Regions from separate parts of the Homo sapiens genome. Here regions 2, 3, 4, 5, 6 and 7 are each linked to region 1. Evidence: promoter capture Hi-C in 16 types of primary human blood cells and fetal thymus (Javierre and others, 2016). All regions are on one chromosome and are shown on one strand. Each heading gives the region's core, a stretch centred on a gene start or on the middle of the fragment in contact. The rest is flanking DNA. Distances are from core to core; before and after follow the strand shown.

Region 1 (2,845 bases), core at 93-2,592:
ATATCCCTCGGAACTAAATTGTCCCCAGTTGGGAACCACGAATTATTAATCCCTAAAAGACAAAGCAGCAACTCCTGACCCCTACAAAAAGTTTTAAATCAATAACTTAGTTTAAAATCCTTACTAAGTGGGATCATTACTAATCTCACTTCATTGTACCTTCAGTATCTGGAAACCGTCCCTATGGTCACACTTACCACGGCTCATTATTATTTTAAAACATGGGGCTGTGTCATTTCCTGTCTGTGAGTTTGGACTGCAGTGGGAATCCATTAGTTGAATGACCTTCTGTGTAGGTTAATCACAAGACAAGTTCTCAAACTAAGGGTTTCCCTGCGGCTCATTTCTTTTTAAAGTTATGGAATACCTGTTCTGCTTATACCTTTTAGATTCATAATTATTTTTCTTGTATCAAAATTTCAATTAATAGAAATAAATGACGTTACTGACACTTCATGATGATTAAGTTTTGGGCAAGTGAACCATTTTACACTCTATTTTTTATTCCTCCCACTTTTAGTCAGAATACACCTGCAGAATAAGTAACAGAACTGTGTGAAAAGAACGACTAGGTCATTACGGTTAATAGTTTTAGAAAAACAGCCGAGGCCTGGTCTGGAAAGCTCACAACCTCCACCCAGATGCTTTCCAGCCTCGGGGATATTCGTACTAGCAGTGACACTAGCCAGCTTCCTCTAGGCTGGCTCTGATGTTGGAAGACAAGCACGCAGATGTGTGTTACTTTTCAAGCCTGGACATCGTTTCTGAGGAATTTAACTCCACCTCTCCTGCCAGAATGGAAAATCAACGCCCCCCATTCCCGCCCTTCACCAACCCCTCTCCGCCTGCCCCTTTCCCTTGGGTCCTCTCTGTTACAGAAGTTCTGATTTTTCCTAGCGAGCTGGAGGAAAGGCAGGTACCCGGAGTGGAGTTATATTACCTGTTTCTTTGTTCTGATGGGACCCCAGAGAGGACATCACGCTTTGTAACTGGTTCTTCAAGGGGAGAAGCAAATGTGTCCCTGAAAACTTCAGCTGCCGCGTTTGGCACCAGGTTTGATTGACAAGGACTGGCGGAGGGAAAGCGCGGAGGCTGGGCTGGGGGCCGCAGGCCGAGGCAGAGACAAAGAGGTTTCGCCTGTCCCCGAGAGTGGAAGGGCCCCTGGGGGTAACTAGCCTTTGAGCTCAAAGGGGCATTTCGTGAGGTCGCCTTTTGGTTCGGAGAGCGCGCGGCGATCGGGTGGAGGGGGCCTGGCGGGAAGAAAGCTGGGGCGGGGAAGGGGCGCGGGCCGAGGTGGGAGCGGAGCTGCAGTCACGTGGCCGCCCGCCGCCGCGGAGTTGGGGCTGTTCTTCCGGGTTGGAGGCGCAGCGCCGCGGGGCCCAAGCCCGGGTCTGCCAGCGCGACGTCCTCTCGCGGCCCTCAGGGCACAGCCCAAGGCTGTCAGCCTCCCGGCCCAGGTGAGCGCGACGGCACTGGCGGGTGCGGGCAGCCGGGGCGCGCGCCTAGGGCGCAGCTGGGAAAGGGGCTCGGGCCTTTCCTGAAGACCACGGCCCTCGCCGGGAGAGAGACCTGTCAAAGAGCAAAGCGGGGCGGGGTCGGCGGTGTCCCGGGCGCAGGGTGCATTGGGGTGTCCGCAGGCCGCAGGCTTAGGTGGGGAAGAAGCACCGTGCCTCTTGGTGTCCCTTTCTCGTCTCCTGCTGGGGCGATGTCGAAGGGAGTGGGCTGGTGGATTTGGGAACTGGGTCCCCGAAGAGGGCAGGGAATGAGGCGGCAGCTGTGCAGGTGCAGATATTTGCAGCTTTGGGGGACAGCGAGAGTCGTACGGGGTCATTTCGGCCCTCAAGATCGGGGGTGGTGGAGAGGGAGGTCATAGAGGACTTTCGATGGGCGGTTCATCCAGAGAGGTGGCAGCTGGATGCCCTTGAGGTATGCTTGACCCTTGAGGGAGTTCGGAGAGGGTGTCCGGCTGGGGACATAGGAGATTGCGAGCACAAATTGTGAGTGTGAGTTGGGGCGGTCTGGCGGTGGTGGGTACAAGTTTCTGGGGCCTAGGCTGGTGAGGAGGAAGAGACAGCGGAGAGGGCGACCTGGGCAGAGCTAGTTCAAACTCAACAGCCGGAATGACTATTTGCAGCCGTGGCCAATCGGCTTCCTAGGGAGGTTATAAATAGCGGTCTCGTGCAGATGCCAGCGGGTGGCAGTTAGTTGCCGAGCAAGGGACGGCACCGGTGGCAGTAGCCGTGACACCAGTGGCTTTGGGTGAGGTCACGGCGCCTGCCAGCCGAAGCTGGCTCAGTAGGGTATTGTGTCCTTGCTGGTATGTCTCGCTTTTAAAAGCGTGACTTGTTTATGGTTGCCGGTGTCCTTTATTCACCCTGTGGCGCCGGCCAGTCCTTAGGTGGTCTGTTTGTCAGGAGTCTTGTAGGACAGACTTATTCGGAGAAGCGCGTGGGGCTTAGGTGCCTACCTACTCTTCTTATTTAAAGTGTGCCCCTTTTCTTCATTGCACCCCTTTTATTTGTAAACCTTGACTTTTTATTAACAGACAGTTTAGGATTGCCTTCTTTCCAGCAGGTGCGCTTAGGCTGCTTACCTTGGTGATAGAATCAGTTTTCCACAAGGCTACACAAACATTTCCTTTTCAAAGGAAATTTTCCGAAAATCCTTGGAAAATGTGCTCAATAGGTACTTAGGCTTAAGGTCACCTAGCCCTATTCATTCAGTCAAAAATACTGACTTCCTCTGTGTTGTGCAAAGCACTGGGGGAGAGTAATACCAAAGTGAATATAACAGCTGATAAGGATATTCTCAGTCCTGGCAACAACCCTGAGAGGTAGGTGCTGTT
Region 2 (2,845 bases), core at 206-2,705, 690 kb before region 1:
CAGGCACGCAATAGATTCTCAAAAGGAGAGCAAAAGCTAGTCTTGGTCCTGCGCATGCGCAGTTCACAATAGGGTTCGCACTCCTGTGAGAATTTAATGCAGCAGATCTGACGCTAGGCGGAGCTCAGCCAGTAATGCTCGCTTGCCCACTGCTCAGCTCCTGCTTTGGGGCCGGGTTCCTAACCGGTCCGTGGTGGGGGGGATTGGGGACCCCTGATTTAAAGAACAGTGCTAATGCCTGTTTTCTGCCTTTATTTGGAGGGCCACAGTCAGTTTCAAAGCAACTCCAGCATATGATCCACCCAGCTGTCCCCTCCCACCCTGTTAGTATCCACAGCTCCTCAAAGGCCCCTGGAATTTAGACTAAAGCCTGATCACGCCACTGCACACCGGCCTAGGCGACCCAGCGAGACCCCCATCTTAAATAATAATAAGACTCAAAAGAAAAAGAAAAAGCTCTGAGCTAGGTCCCTGCCCCCTTTCTGTCTGCTTCAGGCCCATCTATACCAACCTTGATTTACTAGTTTTGATTCCACAGTTGGAGAATAAGGGAAAGGCTTTAATCAATGTGTACAGTTTCGATGGAAGAACCATCACAATTTTGAGTAGATCTAAAAGAAAAGTTCCTTAGCACATTGCATATTATTCACTACATGAAGAGAGTTTTTCTAAATAAAAATGTTTAGGACATTCAGGAGAGGAAGAACAAATTATGGAATGATCTCCACAGCAAAGACCTCAAGGCTCTTATGCGTGCAGGGCACAGTTCCAGTGCAAAAGTCCCCAGAGACAGCATGAGGGTTCCCACTGAGGTGCCTCGGGCTCCTTCCAGGGCAGCAGTTGAAGCAGGTCCTACTGCAGGCCTGCAGAAAGGCAGGGGTTTCTCTCCTTTCCGGGTTCCTTCTTGATGGAATCGTCGGTTTTCAGCAGCTTCCGGGGACAGCCTGGACCGCAGAGAGCAGTCCTGACTCCACACAGGTGGAGAATAAGGAACAGGCTTCAATTGTCATGTACAAAGAACTATGAATTCTGAGTTGATCTAAAAGTAAAGCCCCTTAGCATATTCTTGATTACATATAAATCAAAGTTGTATAATTGAGAAAACTTTAAGGCACTTTGGAGAGGAAGAACTATATAAGGAATTATCTCCATCATAGAGACTTCTTGTTCCTAGATGAACAGTCCCAAGGAAGTTTACAATAACATAATGAGGGTCTCCACTGGGGTGTGAGGAGCTCCTTCCGGGGAATTGGCTGAAGGCAGTGGTGCTGTTGATGCAAGGATACCCCTAAAATTGGAGTTTAGCCTGGGAGACCAAGTAGATACTTGACTTTGAGCCAGAAAGAATTCAAGAGCAAGCCAACAGAGTAATGTGAAAGCAAGTTTATTAAGGAAACTAAGGAACAAAAAGGAGGCTACCCCATAGTCAGGGTAGCAATGGGGCCAGGGTGGCTAGCTGGCTATTTTATGGCTATTTCTGGATTATATGCTAAACAAGGGGTCAATTATTTCTTTAGTTATCTGGGAAAGGGGTGGGAGCTTGTGGAACCAGGAGTTTCTCCCCCTTACAGAATATACAGAGTAACTCTTGGGCATTGCAATGGCATTTGTAAACAGTCACAGTGATTGCTCGGGTGTTAGTGTCTTTTAGCATCCCAATGCATAATAATGAGCATATAATGAGCAACGAGGGTAACCAGAGGTTGCTTATGTAGCCATCTTCCTTCTAACTGGTTTGGGCTTTTTTTTTTTTTTTTTTTTAAAGGAATCATGTCTTATCAAGAGGGTATTGTGACCTGTGTCTTGGGGACCTAGCCTCCTGTTTGTCTTGCAAAACTAGTCCTGCCAAACTCCTATCTCACTGTGAGCCAGGAGCAACAAAAGGTTTGTACCCCCCTCCCCTTCCTGGGTTGCTCTGTATTTCAAGCCCTGATTGTGAGTAGTTTATGAAGGCATCCTCAGTATGTGTCTGTTCAGCTCCACAAGCGTTGGCATCTCCTGGCTGGTTTGGGACCATTGAACCCTGCCATTGGTAGAATCCATCTTTCTTTAAGGTGACTGGAGCTCCTTTGTGGTTTCAGCCACTGACTCCTGGACATGTGGGTTTTGATGGCCATTGGACCCCTCTTGAGCCTGGGAACAGCTCCGTGCCTGCTGGAAACCCAGCACAGCAGCCCACACATACCTGATTTTACATCCTCACAGAGCTAAGGGCATTGGCAGGCATGGTGGCTCAACACAGCAAGTGATCTAGTGCCCAGCCTCAGGTTTGTTCACGGTCCTGACCTGGTGGCATATGACATGCACTCTGGACCTGCTTACCTCCAGGACTGTTCTTCCAGGTTTAATGGACAGAACTCCATGGGTTCAGTCTTGTGACAAGGCCAGCAATATAGTTGAGATAGGAAAAGAGGTAAATAACACTGGCTAGTACTGAGTGTCTGTTTTTACAGTATGTTTTGTCTTGTATATAGGCCAGAAACCAGCTATTCAAATAAGCAGGGGATTAACACTAATTTGCCTTGCAAATTGGTTCAGAACCTGATAGGATTAAGGTGAAAATTGTATCATTCTGGAAGATACTCTGAAAACGCTTCTGGGTTGCTATGATTGAATCAGCCAAGGAAAGGGAGCAATGGAGATGTCCCACTGGTGGCACGAACCAGTTACTTACTGTCTATTCACTACACAAAGTGTGTCCTTATTGCAGAGCAGCCTAGACAATTACACCTACTATGTCTCATTCTTCTTGCATATTTTAGAGGCATTGAGCAGTTGTAGATAGGAGACACAATGAGGTTAGATCATAGTCCAAGATCAGAAAGCTAATTCTGCTAGAATCTGG
Region 3 (2,845 bases), core at 247-2,746, 660 kb before region 1:
GAGTATAAAAACGCAAAAGATGTTGATTTCTGAATCCCAGATACCCGGTGTCAGCTGGTGAAAGAAGGACGCGATGAAGTTGCTGTCTCCCCTCGGAGTTTGGCAGGCCCGGGATTCCACAAAGGAGTAGGCGCGGCCAGCCGCCTCCAGCCCTGAGCTCAGTAAATTCGGTGTCCTGAATGCTCCCTTCCTGTCCTTACCACTGCGAGCTCTCTTGGGACAGCTTTCTAGGTTCCACTGCGACCTACTTTCCGCTCCCTGAGTGCTTCTTTGCTGAAACTGCAGGCGAAAAGATCTCTTTCCCAGACCGCAGCGCACTTTGAGAAGGGGCTCAAAGTCGCCCGCTCTGAATCCGGCACCGGCAAATAGGAGTAGCCGCAGGCGCCCTCTGGAGAGCTGGAGACTGCAGAGGGTCCCAACGGACGCCTGCCCCCGCAGCATCCCTCTCAACTCGCCCCTTGCTTCGTGGACAGACGACTGGGGCCGGAGACGTCCGTCCGAGGAGACCTTTCAGAGTGTCAGCCTACTACTGTCCCGCCGAAGCCACCAACCGAAGTTCCAAGACTGCTGGCTGCAGATTGCATGCGCTTGAGGGCAGACGCCCTAAGAAGGTGTCCACCGCCGCCTTTGATGTCCTGAGCCCTGAGATTTTCTCTGAGATCCTTCCATTGACGATCGTCTTGTAACAGATGATGTTACAGTAACACCTGAGTTCTCTCAAACGCGATGGAAGAAGTTTTGCCTTCAAATCAGTTTGTGCCATTTTCTTTCCCCTTCTCAATAAAATTGTACACAAATGTGGCCGGGCGCGGTGGCTTACGCCGGTAATCCCAGCAATTTGGGAGGCCCAGTCGGGTGGATCACTTGAGGTCAGAAGTTCGAGAACAGCCTGACCAACATGGTGAAACCCCGTCGCTACTAAAAATACAAAATAAGCCAGGCATGGTGACGCATGCCTGTAATCCCAACTACTCGGGAGGCTGAGGCAGGAGAATCGCTTGAACCCTGAGGCAGAGGTTGCAGTGAGCCGAGATGGTGTCATTGCACTCCAGCCTGGGCAACAAGAGCAAAACTCTGTCTCAAAAATATAAAATAAAATAAAATAGGACACAAATGTTAAATTTCTGTTACCTGGGTTCCTGCTGATGAAGGTAAGGACGGGGCATAGGAGCGGGGCGGCTGGTTGCTGGTGCCAGGACTGGCACGGGACTCTGGGTCGCCTAGGTTTGCTGATTGCAGGGCAGAAGTAGTGTGTCTTATCCAGAGACTGGAGGGAAGGATCAGCCAGGAGTTGTGCATGGCAGGTGACTCACAGGCTGGGCCTACAGGAAATGTGGTTAACAGGCAGCAGGCCTGAGAACTTAGTGCAGGAAATTCTCTTGTTCCAAGTCCCTGGAACTTTTCCCTCTGAGGGTTTGCACTGTTATATCTTGAGAGCTTGCTAAACTCACTCATGAGTGCTGGAACTTTTCTTTTAGACTCCTTAAGATTTTCTACATAGACTCATATTCTGCAGGTATGGATATTTTCATTGTTTCGCTTCCAATTTTTATGATTTTTAACACATTTTCTCACCTTATTGCACTGGCAAACAATTCCAGTACATTGTTGAATAGAAATGGTGAGAGTGGATATTTGTGCCTTGTTCCTGATTCCATGGGAAAAACGTTGAGTCTGTCATTATTACATACCACGTTTGCTATAGGTTTTTGTAGATTTTTTTTGGTTGAGGAAATTCCCTCTGTTCCCATGATGCTGAGAGTTGGTTTTTAAATTTTAAATCATAAATGGTATAGATTTTAAGTGCTTTTTGTGCATCATTTGATAGGATTATACGGTGTTTCTCATCTAGGCTATCAATAAGGCAAATTATATTATTTGACTTTCGAGCATTAAACTAGCCCTCCATCTGGAATAATCTTACTTGGGCGTGGTATTGTTCTTTATTTTTTTTGAGACGGAGTCTCGCTCTGTCGCCCAGGCTGGAGTGCAGTGGTGCGGTCTCGGCTCACTGCAAGCTCCGCCTTCCGGGTTGACGCCATTCTCCTGCCTCAGCCTCCCAAGTAGCTGGGACTACAGGCACCCACTACCACCCCCGGCTAATTTTTTGTATTTTTTTTTTTTAGTAGAGACAGGGTATCACTGTGTTAGCCAAAATGGTCTCGATCTCCTAACCTCGTGATCCGCCGGCCTCGGCCTCCCAAAGTGCTGGGATTACAGGCGTGAACCACTGCGCCTGGCCCAAGGCATGGTATTGTTCTTTAACATATATTTCTGACTGCCATTTGTTAGTATTTTGGTGAGGATTTCTGCATCTATGCTTAGGTGCAATATTGGTCAGTAGCTTTCTCTTAGCGTACTGTGTGTGCCAGGAAAGTGCTGATCTCATAAAATAAATTGGGAAGTATTCCATATTCTTTTATTTACTAGAATAAGTCATGTAGAATTCATCTTATTTATTCTTTAAATATTTGGTAAAAAATAGTCAATGAAATTGTAAGAAACTCTAGGTTTGTTTTTTGGAAGATTTTTTGACCATGAATTCAATATCATTAACGATGACTGTGGATCTTGCAGGGTTGATCCATTCTATCTAACTTGTTGAATTTATGAGTATAGAGTTGGTTTTAGATCATTTAAAAAAGTTACCATTGTGGGCCAGGTGGGGTGGCTCACTCCTGTAATCCCAGCACTTTGGGTGGCCAAGGTGAGTGAATCACTTGAGGCCCGGAGTTCAAGACCAGCCTGGCCAACATAGCAAAACCCCATCTCTACTAAAAATACAAAAAATTAGCCAGGCGTGGTGGTGCACGCCTGTAATCCCAGCTACACAGGAGGCTGAATC
Region 4 (2,845 bases), core at 167-2,666, 620 kb before region 1:
TCTCCATGGTCTCCCTCTCCCTCTCTTTCCACGGTCTCCCTCTGATGCCGAGCCGAAGCTGGACTGTACTGCTGCCATCTCGGCTCACTGCAACCTCCCTGCCTGATTCTCCTGCCTCAGCCTGCGGAGTGCCTGCGATTGCAGGCGCGCGCCGCCACGCCTGACTGGTTTTCGTATTTTTTTGGTGGAGACGGGGTTTCGCTGTGTTGGCCGGGCTGGTCTCCAGCTCCTAACCGCCAGTGATCCGCCAGCCTCGGCCTCCCGCGGTGCCGGGATTGCAGACGGAGTCTGGTTCACTCAGTGCTCAATGGTGCCCAGGCTGGAGTGCAGTGGCGTGATCTCGGCTCGCTACAACCTCCACCTCCCAGCCGCCTGCCTTGGCCTCCCAAAGTGCTGAGAGTGCAGCCTCTGCCAGGCCGACACCCCGTCTGGGAATTGAGGAGCGTCTCTGCCTGGCCGCCCATCGTCTGGGACGTGAGGAGCCCCTCTGCCTGGCTGCCCAGTCTGGAAAGTGAGGAGTGTCTCTGCCCGGCCGCCATCCCATCTAGGAAGTGAGGAGCGCCTCTTCCCGGCCGCCATCCCATCTAGGAAGTGAGGAGCGTCTCTGCCCGGCCACCCATCGTCTGAGATGTGGGGAGCGCCTCTGCCCCGCCACCTCATCTGGGATGTGAGGAGCACCTCTGCCCGGCCGCGACCCCGTCTGGGAGGTGAGGAGCGTCACTGCCTAGCCGCCCCGTCTGAGAAGTGAGGAGACCCCCCGCCTGGCAACCGCCCCGTCTGAGAAGTGAGGAGCCCCTCCGCCCGGCAGCCACCCCGTCTGGGAAGTGAGGAGCGTCTCCGCCCGGCAGCCACCCCGTCCGGGAGGGAGGTGGGGGGGTCAGCGCCCCGCCCGGCCAGCCGCCCCGTCCGAGAGGGAGGTGGGGAGGGTCAGCCCCCCGCCCGGCCAGCCGCCCCGTCTGGGAGGTGAGGGGCGCCTCTGCCCAGCCGCCCCTACTGGGAAGTGAGGAGCCCCTCTGCCCGGCCACCACCCCGTCTGGGATGTGTACCCAACAGCTCATTGAGAACGGGCCATGATGACAGTGGCGGTTTTGTGGAATAGAAAGGGGGGAAAGGTGGGGAAAAGATTGAGAAATCGGATGGTTGCCGTGTCTGTGTAGAAAGAAGTAGACATGGGAGACTTTTCATTTTGTTCTGTACTAAGAAAAATTCTTCTGCCTTGGGATCCTGTTGATCTGTGACCTTACCCCCAACCCTGTGCTCTCTGAAACATGTGCTGTGTCCACTCAGGGTTAAATGGATTAAGGGCGGTGCAAGATGTGCTTTGTTAAACAGATGCTTGAAGGCAGCATGCTCGTTAAGAGTCATCACCACTCCCTAATCTCAAGTACCCAGGGACACAAACACTGCGGAAGGCCGCAGGGTCCTCTGCCTAGGAAAACCACAGACCTTTGTTCACTTGTTTATCTGCTGACCTTCCCTCCACTATTGTCCTATGACCCTGCCAAATCCTCCTCTGCGAGAAACACCCAAGAATGATCAATTAAAAAAAAAAAATAAAGCTGTTTAAACACAAAAAAAAAAAAAAAAAAAGAAAGAGATCAGATTGTTACTGTGTCTGTGTAGAAAGAACTAGACATAGGAGACTCCATTGTGTTCTGTACTAAGAAAAATTCTTCTGCCTTGGGATGCTGTTAATCTATAACCTTACCCCCAACCCCGTGCTCTCTGAAACATGTGCTGTGTCCACTAAGGGTTAAATGGATTAAGGGCGGTGCAAGATGTGCTTTGTTAAACAGATGCTTGAAGGCAGCATGCTCGTTAAGAGTCATCACCACTCCCTAATCTCAAGTACCCAGGGACACAAACACTGCGGAAGGCCGCAGGGTCCTCTGCCTAGGAAAACCACAGACCTTTGTTCACTTGTTTATCTGCTGACCTTCCCTCCACTATTGTCCTATGACCCTGCCAAATCCTCCTCTGCGAGAAACACCCAAGAATGATCAATTAAAAAAAAAAAATAAAGCTGTTTAAACACAAAAAAAAAAAAAAAAAAAGAAAGAGATCAGATTGTTACTGTGTCTGTGTAGAAAGAACTAGACATAGGAGACTCCATTGTGTTCTGTACTAAGAAAAATTCTTCTGCCTTGGGATGCTGTTAATCTATAACCTTACCCCCAACCCCGTGCTCTCTGAAACATGTGCTGTGTCCACTAAGGGTTAAATGGATTAAGGGCGGTGCAAGATGTGCTTTGTTAAACAGATGCTTGAAGGCAGCATGCTCGTTAAGAGTCATCACCACTCCCTAATCTCAAGTACCCAGGGACACAAACACTGCGGAAGGCGGCGGCGGGGCGCTCTGCCTAGGAAAACCAGAGAGCTTTGTTCACATGTTTATCTGCTGACCTTCCCTCCACTATTGTCCTATGACCCTGCCAAATCCCCCTCTCTGAGAAACAGCCAAGAATGATCAATAAATACTAAGAAAATAAAAAATAAAAAAAGAAATAATGACACATCTTACAATGACTAGTTTCTTAGATTGAGGAAATTATAATTCCAGACAAATGTTAAGCCAAAGAAGGCCAGTGTAGCTCTAGTACTACATTGGCTTAGCCTCTCTCTTCAAATTACTTAGCTTGCTGAAATAATCCAATTAGGCCATCTGGAAAAAAAAAAAAAAAAAAAAAAACACAAGACAAACCAATACAAAAGATGTGCCTGATCGTTACAGGACCAACAGGTTTGGATATCTGCTGTGCAGTAACATAAATATATACCAAAACACTGAAACAGCAGGGCTTACAGCAGAAAAAGAATGTAATGATAGCAGGGCAGCCAGGTGAGG
Region 5 (2,845 bases), core at 110-2,609, 580 kb before region 1:
GGTGAGCCGGGCAGAACAGAGCCATATTTCTCTTCTTTCAAAAGCAAATGGGAGAAATATCGCTGAATTCCGTCCCTGAGAAAGAGAATGCGCACCTAGGGGTAGGTCTCTGAACTGGCCGCCCCGGGGCGTACCTGTCTCTTATGGTCGAGATTGCAGAGGTGAAATAAACTCCAGTTTCCCATAGCGCTCCCAGGCTTATTAGGAAGAGGAAATTCCCGCCTAATAAACTTTGGTCAGACCAGTTGATCTCAAAACCCTGTCTCCTGATAAGATAATATCAGTGACAATGGTGCCAAAACTTCATTAGCAATTTTAATTTCGTTTCGGTCCTGTGGTCCTGTGATCTCGCCCTGCCTCCACTTGCCTTGTGATATTCTATTACCCTGTTAAGTACTTGATGTCTGTCACCCACACCTATTCGCACACTCCCTCCCCTTTTGAAAATCCCTAAAAAAACCTGCTGGTTTCGGTGGCTTGTGGGGCATCACAGATCCTACCAATGTGTGATGTCTCCCCCGGACGCCCAGCTTTAAAATTTCTCTCTTTTGTACTCTGTTCTTTTATTTCTCAAGCCAGTCGACGCTTAGGAAAATAGAAAAGAACCTACGTGATTATCGGCGCAGGTCCCCCGATAACCTGTGATCCTGTTTTGTGATATCAAGTGTTTTAAGTCTTTGATGTTTGACAAACTTTCCAAAATCCAATTCTAAATTCAGTCATTTTCATCTCATTAGTTTTTTTGACATTGAGTCCCCTGAAATCCAAAGAGACATATTTGGCTTAGTTGGTATAATCACACAAGAAGTATTATCAAATATAAAATGATATGTAACCATCTTTGCATTGTATTTATGTAAATGTGTTATTAGTGTTTTAAAATTGTATGAGATTCTTCTGATTGTGATATGTCTTAGTATATGTTTTCAGAACTAATTATGATTATTATATTCAAATGTTATATATCATAGATATAACCACATTTCTTTGTCAGTTGTGTCTTAAACCATGGCTATTGTAAGACTTTTGTCATCTACAATTATTGTTTTACTTAGATCCTTTCGTAGAGTGGTTTATAATCAGTTATAGAGCTCTGAGACTACCCTTTTTGTTGTTGTTGTTGTTGATGTTTGCTTTTTGAGACAGGGTCTCAATCTGTCACCTATACTGCAGTGTGGTGGCATAATCACTGCTCACTTCAGCCTTAATCTCCTAGACTCAAGCAATCCTCCCACCTAAGCCTACCAAGTAGCTGAGGCTACAGGCACGCACCATACACTCAGAGAATTTTAAAAATTTTGTAGAGATAGAGTCTCCCTCTGCTGCCCAGGCTGATCTCAAACTCTTGGGCTCAAGCAATCCTCCCACCTCAGCCTCCCAAAGTGCTGGGATTACAGGCATAAGCCACCACACCCAAGATTTTAATACATTTATCATGTCTTCATTAACAAATACCAAGTGTCTATATTGTACTACATAGTGAACAAGGTCCCAGAGATAAGTAATCAACAAGCAGACATGGACTTGGCCATAAAGTGTTTGACACCTTCATGGATTGTAAAAAAAAAAAAAAAGCATGACAACAAATAAATAAATAAAACCGTGTTTATATGATAAATGTTATCAAGAAACTTAACGCAACTTAGTTGAAAAGGTAACTAGGAGGATATTATATTAGCTACTATAGTAAGGATAGAATTGTCACAGATACTTCCACTTCGATATGAGTAATGCAATGAACAACACCAAAAAACAAACAAACCAACCTAGGCTGGGTGCAGTGGCTCGCACTTGTACTCCTAGCACTTTGGGAGGCCAAGGCAGGCGGATCACTTGAGGCAAGGAGTTCAAGACCATCCTGGCGAACATGGTGAAATGCCATCTCTACTAAAAATATAAGAAAATTTGCTGGGCGTGGTGGCCCACACCTGTAATCTCAAGTTACTCAGTAGGCTGAGGCGAGAGAATCATTTGAACCCGGGAGGCAGAGCTTGCAGTGAGCTGAGAACACACCACTGTACTCCAGCCTGGGCAACAGAGCAAGACCCTGTCTCAAAAAAAAAAAAAAAAAGGTGGAGTTACCATCATGAGAGAATATAAAGTACAAAGATTCTAAGACTAGAAAACTTTATTATGGGCCGGGCATAGTGGCTCATGCCTGTAATCCCAGCACTATGGGAGGCTGAGGCAGGAGGATCACTTGAGGCCAAAAACTCAAAACTAGCCCAGGCAACATAGTAAAATACCATCTCTAGTAAAAAAAAAAAAAAAAAAAAAATTAGCTGGATGTGTTGGTGTCTGCTTGTAGTCCCAGCCACACAGGAGGCTGAGGCAACATAATTGTTTGAGCCCAGGAGTTCAAGGCTGAAGTGAGCTGTGATGATACCACTGCATTCTAGCCTGAGCTACAGAGTGAAACCTTGCCTCCAAAATAAAAATAAACGTTTGTTACAGCCATGGACAAAGAGAAAGCAATTAATGGCTTTCAGTGAACTAAATGGGAGGTATCTAGACTAAAAAAATCTTGTAGTCTTCTGCCCAAGATGGCCTGCTGGCCTCTAGGCAAAAATGATACATGATTAGATAAAGGTGGAAGTTTTGATTTAGTTTTGATTGAATTGTTAAACTACTGATGATACAGTGCCCACGTATATGATATTGACTCCATAAATTATCAGGTTGGCCAAAGATGTAGCAAAGGCATTTGTAAGAAAGCTGTAACTGATAACGCTTGATGGTATATTTCTACATTTTCTTCCTAAGTTTATCAGATTAGTTGACCCCTATATCAGCTGAGTTCTTTATTCTCTAAGTTATGACACGCTAATTCTTGGAGGATGTAACA
Region 6 (2,845 bases), core at 1-2,500, 550 kb before region 1:
TCCTCCTGTTCTCCATATCAGTCTCTCTGGTCCTCAGTTTCCTGCAACACTACCTTATTGGCCCATACTGGGTATCACGCAGGGTCAGAGGCGAATTTACCATGCAGCTAAGGAAGCTTAGCTTTTAGGATCCGTTTGAACAGGTCTGTAATTTTGTACTCAAAATTTTTATTCTTTTTTTTAAAGAGAATCCCCCACTACTTTTATGAACATTGGGTACTATTAACTGAACCTACCTTGAACACAACAGTTTGCTTGATCACATGGAACCATCTTCTAGGAAGCCCTATCTAAGAATAATCCACTTAGGATAAGCTTCTAAGAATAATCCACTTAGGATGAAAGAAAGGGGAAGAATATATCCACTGTGGGAGAAATAAAACAATCCTGACACAAAAAGACCCCTGTGTACCCAACAGAAGAGAGACAGAACACTAGTATTGAATTAGCCTTAACAGATTTACATGCATGTAAGGTAGCATGACAATAACTATAAAGCTGGCTCATATCTCATATGCTTTGAACAAAGAATGGGGAAGAATGAGAACTGCTTTTACTGCTTCAAAAGAAAAGAGGGTACACCTTGTGACAGTTTCCCCTATACTGAGAAACCCTCAGCTCGTCCTTGTAGGTGCTGTTAAAAAACATCTGGATGTTATTTTCCTATGGCCCGGGTACATTCTGGAGACCGGGCTTAATCCCTAGAGATATTATATTTCCACTGTTAGAACAAAGATTCAGAGTTGTTACCACGTTGAATGTAATATCACTGTTTTCTTTCTTTTGTGGTTTTTAGGAACAGAAACAACACACTCAGACTTGAGAAACTGGTCTGGTTTAAAAGGGTTCCTGGCCTTACAGGTGGGTAAGAAATGTCACTTCCTGGCAGGCTGAGGAACATCAGGATATTTGGAGGACCTTGACAAGGGAAGAATTCACCGAAATCTATAGGTATTCCAGGCAAAGTGTGATAGCAAGATCCTGGTATGGTTTCCTAGCCTTGAGAGGCTTTTAAAAGTCTAATTTGAGATTCCTTATTAAAAGATCCAGAAAAGCCAACTTAAAGAGACCCTGTGTGGTAAAACACTATTCCTGCTGCACTTGTGTAAATATTAGGCCAACTTTAAAGACACTAAATTTATTTTGCAAACAGATTACTCTTACTAATACTTTGATGATGTTTGATAAAAAGGGAGTAAGTATAGAGAAAAAACTTTCAGAGAAAAAAATATAGTGCACCTGTTATTAGACTCTAGCTCATTGTTTTTGAGGTTTTTTCGTCTACCTGAAATCTAGACTGGATCTTGAATTTTTTGTTTCCTGTAATATCTGGCAATGGGCTGGGTGTCAGAGCTCGCAACTGCAATCCCAGCACTTTGGGAGGTCGAGGTGGGAGGATTGCTGAAGCCCAAGACTTCGAGACCAGCCTGGGCAAAAGGCGAAACACCGTCTCTACAAAAAGTTCAAAAATTTGCTGGGCATGGAGGCATGCGCCTGTGGTTGCAGCTGCTTGGAAGGTGGAGGTGGAAGGATTGCTTGAGCCAAGGAGGTTGAGGCTGCAGTAAGCCTTGTTTGTGCCACTGCACTCCAGCCTCAATTACAAAGCAAGGACCCCATCTCAAAAAAAAAAAAAAAAAGGGCTGGACGCATTGGCTCATGCCTGTAATCCCAGCACTTTGGCAGGTTGAGGCAGGTGGATCACTTGAGGCTAGGAGTTCGAGGCCAGCCTGGCCAACATGGTGAAAACCCATCTCTACAAAAAATACAAAAATTAGCTGGGTGTGGTGGTGTGCACCTGTAATTCTAGCTACTCGGGAGGCAGGGGCAGGAGAATTGCTTGAACACAGAGGTGAATGTTGCAGTGAGTGGAGATGGTGACACTGTACTCCAGCCTGGGCGACAGAGCAAGACTTCACCTAAAAAAAAAAAAAGTCTAGCTATGGCTCTTAAAACTAATATTTCTGATTTTTCTTCTACCCTTCTGGCTTTGAACTGCTGAAATTAAACTGCACTTTTCCTGAAGTCTTGTCAGCTGAAGCTGGATGGGTTAATATAGACTGCAGAGAAATCACCACCACTCATACATGGACTACTCAGAAATTTCACCAGAACACCTCATGCAAACTGCAAACCAGGAAATTCCGTCAGATTGCCACTGCCTGCCCCCATTCAAACTGAAGATACTTCAAGCTTAACATCTAAAACTTTCTGACTGGCTGCCCTCTGGACTAAAAAAACTGAGTTTATAGTCAGTTCCAATCATTAACCTTTGCTTTTCTCGTTTCAATGAAAATATCTTTTTTTTTTTTTTTTTTTGAGACAGAGTTTTGCTGTTGTTGCCCAGGCTGGAGTGCAATGGTACAATCTCGGCTCATTGCAACTTCCACCTTCTGGGTTCAAGTGATTCTCCTGCCTCAGCCTCCTGAGTAGCTGCGATTATAGGAATGTGCCACCACACCTGGCTAATTTTGTATTTTTAGTAGAGACAGGGTTTCTCCATGTTGGTCAGGCTGGTCTCAAACTCCCTAGGTGATCCGCCCGCCTCGGCCTCCCAAAGTGCTGGGATTATAGGCATGAGCCACCACACCTGGCTGGAAATATCTCTTATTAAATGAATGATTGCTTAGGCCTAACTTTGGTGGATGCCATTCTGCAATCCCACCACCTGACTCGAGACAGTCCTGTTAACTGTTTAACTGGACTGACCTATTCTCAGGACTGAGAGACTGGTATAATGACTAGATAATATAGTGACCCAGTTCCTGAACCGAGAAACTTTATAAGGAGGTTTCATGGTACCTTGGCAATTGAGAAAACCAAAGAAGCAAGAAGGTCAGTATTACCA
Region 7 (2,845 bases), core at 244-2,743, 520 kb before region 1:
TGTAAAGTATGCAAAATTTATCAGGCTCAGAGAGACTTGAGCAAGAGCCTTCAGTCATATCCCTCTCAGCCATACCCAGGAATAACTGTTTCAAGGCATTTTGACAGGGGCGGCGACTCAGCTCTTGCCTGTAATCCCAGCTACTCAGCAGGCTGAGATGGGAGGATCACATAAGCCCAGGAGTTTGAGACTGCAGCAGGCTATAATCAGGCTACTGCATTTCACCCTGGGCAACGGAGAGAAAACCCATCTCTAAAAAAGTTAAGATAAATAAAAAATAAATAAGCAAAAAATAAATTTGGAGCCGGGCGCGGTATCTCATGCCTGTAATCCCAGCACTTTGGGAGGCCGAGGTGGGTGGATCACCTGAGGTCAGGAGTTTGAGACCGGCCTAGCCAACATGGTGAAACACCATCTCTACTAAAAATACAAAAAATTAGCCAGGTGTGGTGGTGGGCGCCTGTAATCCTAGCTACTCGGGAGGCCGAGGCAGGAGAATCGCTTGAACCCAGGAGGTAGAGGTTGCAGTGAGCCAAGATCGCACCATTGCACTCCAGCCTGGGCAACAAGAGCGAAATTCCATCTCTAAATAAATAAATAAATTTTGGTGGTTTTTTTTTTCTTTCCTGTTGTTTCCAGACTAATAACCTAAAATGTTACCACAAGTTGGGCAATGTGAGTCTCACTCATTACCTTCTTTTTCCTGAAATTAGTGACATAAAGAAAAATGTATAGCCAACAATAGCTTATGTTATTTTAATAAACCAATGTAAAATTTTGTTTGTTTGTTTTGTTTTTGAGACAGAGTCTTGCTCTGTCACCCAGGCTGAAGTGCACCCAGGCTGAAGTTGGAGGCTATGGTGAGCTGCACCACTACACCACTATGGGAGGCCGAGGCGAGTGGATTGCCTGAGCTCAGGAGTTCGAGACCAGCCTGGGCAACGTTGTGAAACCCCGTCTCTACTAAAACACAAAAAATTAGCCAGGCCTGGCGGCATGTGCCTATAGTCCCAGCTACTCAGGAGGCTGAGGCAGGAGAATTGCTTGAACCCGGGAGCTGGAGGTTGCAGTGAGCCGAGATTGCGCCACTGCACTCCAGCCTCGGTGACAGAGTGAGACTCCGTCTCAAAAAAAAACAATATAAGGTGAAGGCCAAGCAGGGTGGCACATACCTGTTGTCTCACCTACTCAAAAGGCTGAGGCCAGAGGAGGATTGCTGGAAGTGAGTTCAAAGCCAGCCTAGAGAATATATTGAGACTCTGTCTCTAAATTTTATATATATATGGTGAATTCACCTTTACCATATCTTTTATGTATAAGCAATGGGATTGATTAGCAAGTAATGGGACTCTGAAATCAAAGGGGTAAATTTGGGTAGATCTTTATAAATATAATAACCTTGAACCCCACAAATCTCTCTAAGCGTCCTTTAAAAAATAGACTTTCTGTCTGAGTAGGTGAGTCCTTTTTTTTGTTTGAAGATACTAGAAAGCTCTTACTTGAGACAGCTCCTAAAAGAATGTCAATTCAACAGAAGTCTCATAGCCAGTATAACTAATTCTAACCCCCTAACTAGAGTCAGATACTAGGATACCCCTAAGGGACAACAATGAAATCTGAATTTGGGTGTCATTGCTTACATATCAAAACAGTTGCAAGAGACAGTTAATTTATATTTGCAGAAACCATATGAATTTGTATGAAAATGATTTTTTAAAGTGCTATATCAAGAAAACTAGAACATAATGCAGAACAAATAAAATTTACTTATATGGGTGCCAAGAATAGAAATTCTGGGTTCCGCATACATCAGCATCTAGAAGAATCTGCAGTAGGTATGGATGGTTGATTGAGGCCTTTATTCAATGGTAGTCTACAAAGAATAAGACAGAAGTAAGAACTTTCCTGTTAAAATGGAAAGATAGAGTAAACAAGTTTAGGAATATCTCATAAGCCACTGATTCCATTCTTAGGTCTATATCCAAGGGAAATTCTTGCACATGCACACAAGGAAACATGGAAGAGAATGTCCATATATGTACTGTTCACAGTAACAAAAATTTGCTGAGGAGGAAGGAACTAAAACTCCAACAATAGGAGAGCGGATAGAAAGGAACATATTATATTCACAGAACGGAATATTTTACAAAAATCAGAATAAACTACAACATTACTCAAAATCATGGCTGCATTATAGCAACATAATATTCAGAGAAAAAGTTTAAAAGACTACATAGAACTGTCAATTGAGGAAAATGACAAGATAAGTCTCAATCATTTTAGGAGGTTTATTTGCCAAAGTTAAGGACATGCCTGGGAGACAGGTCTATGCCTTTCTCTGATGATGATTTTGAGGGCTCCAAATTTAAAGGGGAAAGGGCAGGATATTGAGAAGCGCACAGTTTTCACATAAACCAAAGGGGCAGAGGAAAAATATGGGGAATCTGCATTTTACATAAGATAACAGACAAAATGGGGTAGAGGGAACAATCAGATATGCATTTGTGTCTGGCGAGCAGGGTGACTGCACATGTAAAGATAAGCTATCAATTTGCATTGCCATGGTGAAGTTTTAACAGCTCACCAGGAATTTCCCTGTGGGCAAAATATGGGAGAGGCATGTAGCTTTTCATCTTGTAGCCATCTTATTTAGGAATCAAAAGCGGGAGGCAGGTTTGTGTGACCCAGTTCCCAGCTTAACTTTTCCCTTTGGCTAAATGAGTTTGGGGTCCCAAAGTTTAATTTCCCTTCACAGAACACAGTTTTATTTTATAAAATTAACAAAAACACACAATATGTAGATACATATTGATAAAAATAAAACTATGTAAAAAGGTAAACAACA

What was found. Contacts are between HindIII fragments. The CHiCAGO score rates a contact against its expected background, and 5 or more counts as called.
Region 2: a contact is called between a fragment that was not itself captured here and the fragment with the promoter of NNT in region 1, in 1 of 17 cell types (naive CD8 T cells). The highest score is 5.2, in naive CD8 T cells.
Region 3: a fragment that was not itself captured here is called in contact with the fragment with the promoter of NNT in region 1 in 1 of 17 cell types (non-activated CD4 T cells); the score reaches 6.6 in non-activated CD4 T cells.
Region 4: a fragment that was not itself captured here is called in contact with the fragment with the promoter of NNT in region 1 in 1 of 17 cell types (non-activated CD4 T cells); the score reaches 5.2 in non-activated CD4 T cells.
Region 5: a fragment that was not itself captured here is called in contact with the fragment with the promoter of NNT in region 1 in 2 of 17 cell types (fetal thymus and M0 macrophages); the score reaches 5.5 in fetal thymus.
Region 6: a contact is called between a fragment that was not itself captured here and the fragment with the promoter of NNT in region 1, in 1 of 17 cell types (fetal thymus). The highest score is 8.5, in fetal thymus.
Region 7: a fragment that was not itself captured here is called in contact with the fragment with the promoter of NNT in region 1 in 6 of 17 cell types (naive CD4 T cells, total CD4 T cells, non-activated CD4 T cells and 3 more); the score reaches 9.6 in naive CD4 T cells.

The regions. Positions count from the first base shown.
Region 1 is chr5:43,601,838-43,604,682 of GRCh38, forward strand. NNT (nicotinamide nucleotide transhydrogenase) reads left to right here and starts at 1,343. Exons shown (of 22, transcript NM_182977.3): 1 at 1,343-1,457. NNT-AS1 (NNT antisense RNA 1) reads right to left here and starts at 1,393. Exons shown (of 3, transcript NR_073113.1): 1 at 941-1,393. RefSeq lists silencers at 691-910, 1,174-1,263, 1,384-1,603. The HindIII fragment of the contact is 7,409 bases long and covers 1-2,845 here.
Region 2 is chr5:42,908,960-42,911,804 of GRCh38, forward strand. No RefSeq gene overlaps it. Among named protein-coding and RNA genes, the nearest start is that of FLJ32255, 83 kb to the right of the region's middle. The HindIII fragment of the contact is 5,021 bases long and covers 1-2,845 here.
Region 3 is chr5:42,943,857-42,946,701 of GRCh38, forward strand. No RefSeq gene overlaps it. Among named protein-coding and RNA genes, the nearest start is that of FLJ32255, 48 kb to the right of the region's middle. The HindIII fragment of the contact is 7,406 bases long and covers 1-2,845 here.
Region 4 is chr5:42,979,832-42,982,676 of GRCh38, forward strand. No RefSeq gene overlaps it. Among named protein-coding and RNA genes, the nearest start is that of FLJ32255, 12 kb to the right of the region's middle. RefSeq lists enhancers at 918-1,743, 1,744-2,569. The HindIII fragment of the contact is 9,477 bases long and covers 1-2,845 here.
Region 5 is chr5:43,025,236-43,028,080 of GRCh38, forward strand. The region is part of intron 2 of ANXA2R-OT1 (ANXA2R overlapping transcript 1); the gene reads right to left. LOC105374748 (a long non-coding RNA gene) reads left to right here. Exons shown (of 3, transcript NR_188279.1): 3 at 1-2,461. Among named protein-coding and RNA genes, the nearest start is that of ANXA2R, 14 kb to the right of the region's middle. The HindIII fragment of the contact is 4,980 bases long and covers 1-2,845 here.
Region 6 is chr5:43,049,763-43,052,607 of GRCh38, forward strand. All of the region lies in intron 2 of ANXA2R-OT1 (ANXA2R overlapping transcript 1), which reads right to left. Among named protein-coding and RNA genes, the nearest start is that of ANXA2R-AS1, 9.1 kb to the left of the region's middle. The HindIII fragment of the contact is 1,875 bases long and covers 314-2,188 here.
Region 7 is chr5:43,079,095-43,081,939 of GRCh38, forward strand. All of the region lies in intron 2 of LOC100506639 (a long non-coding RNA gene), which reads left to right. Among named protein-coding and RNA genes, the nearest start is that of ANXA2R-OT1, 13 kb to the left of the region's middle. The HindIII fragment of the contact is 4,908 bases long and covers 1-2,845 here.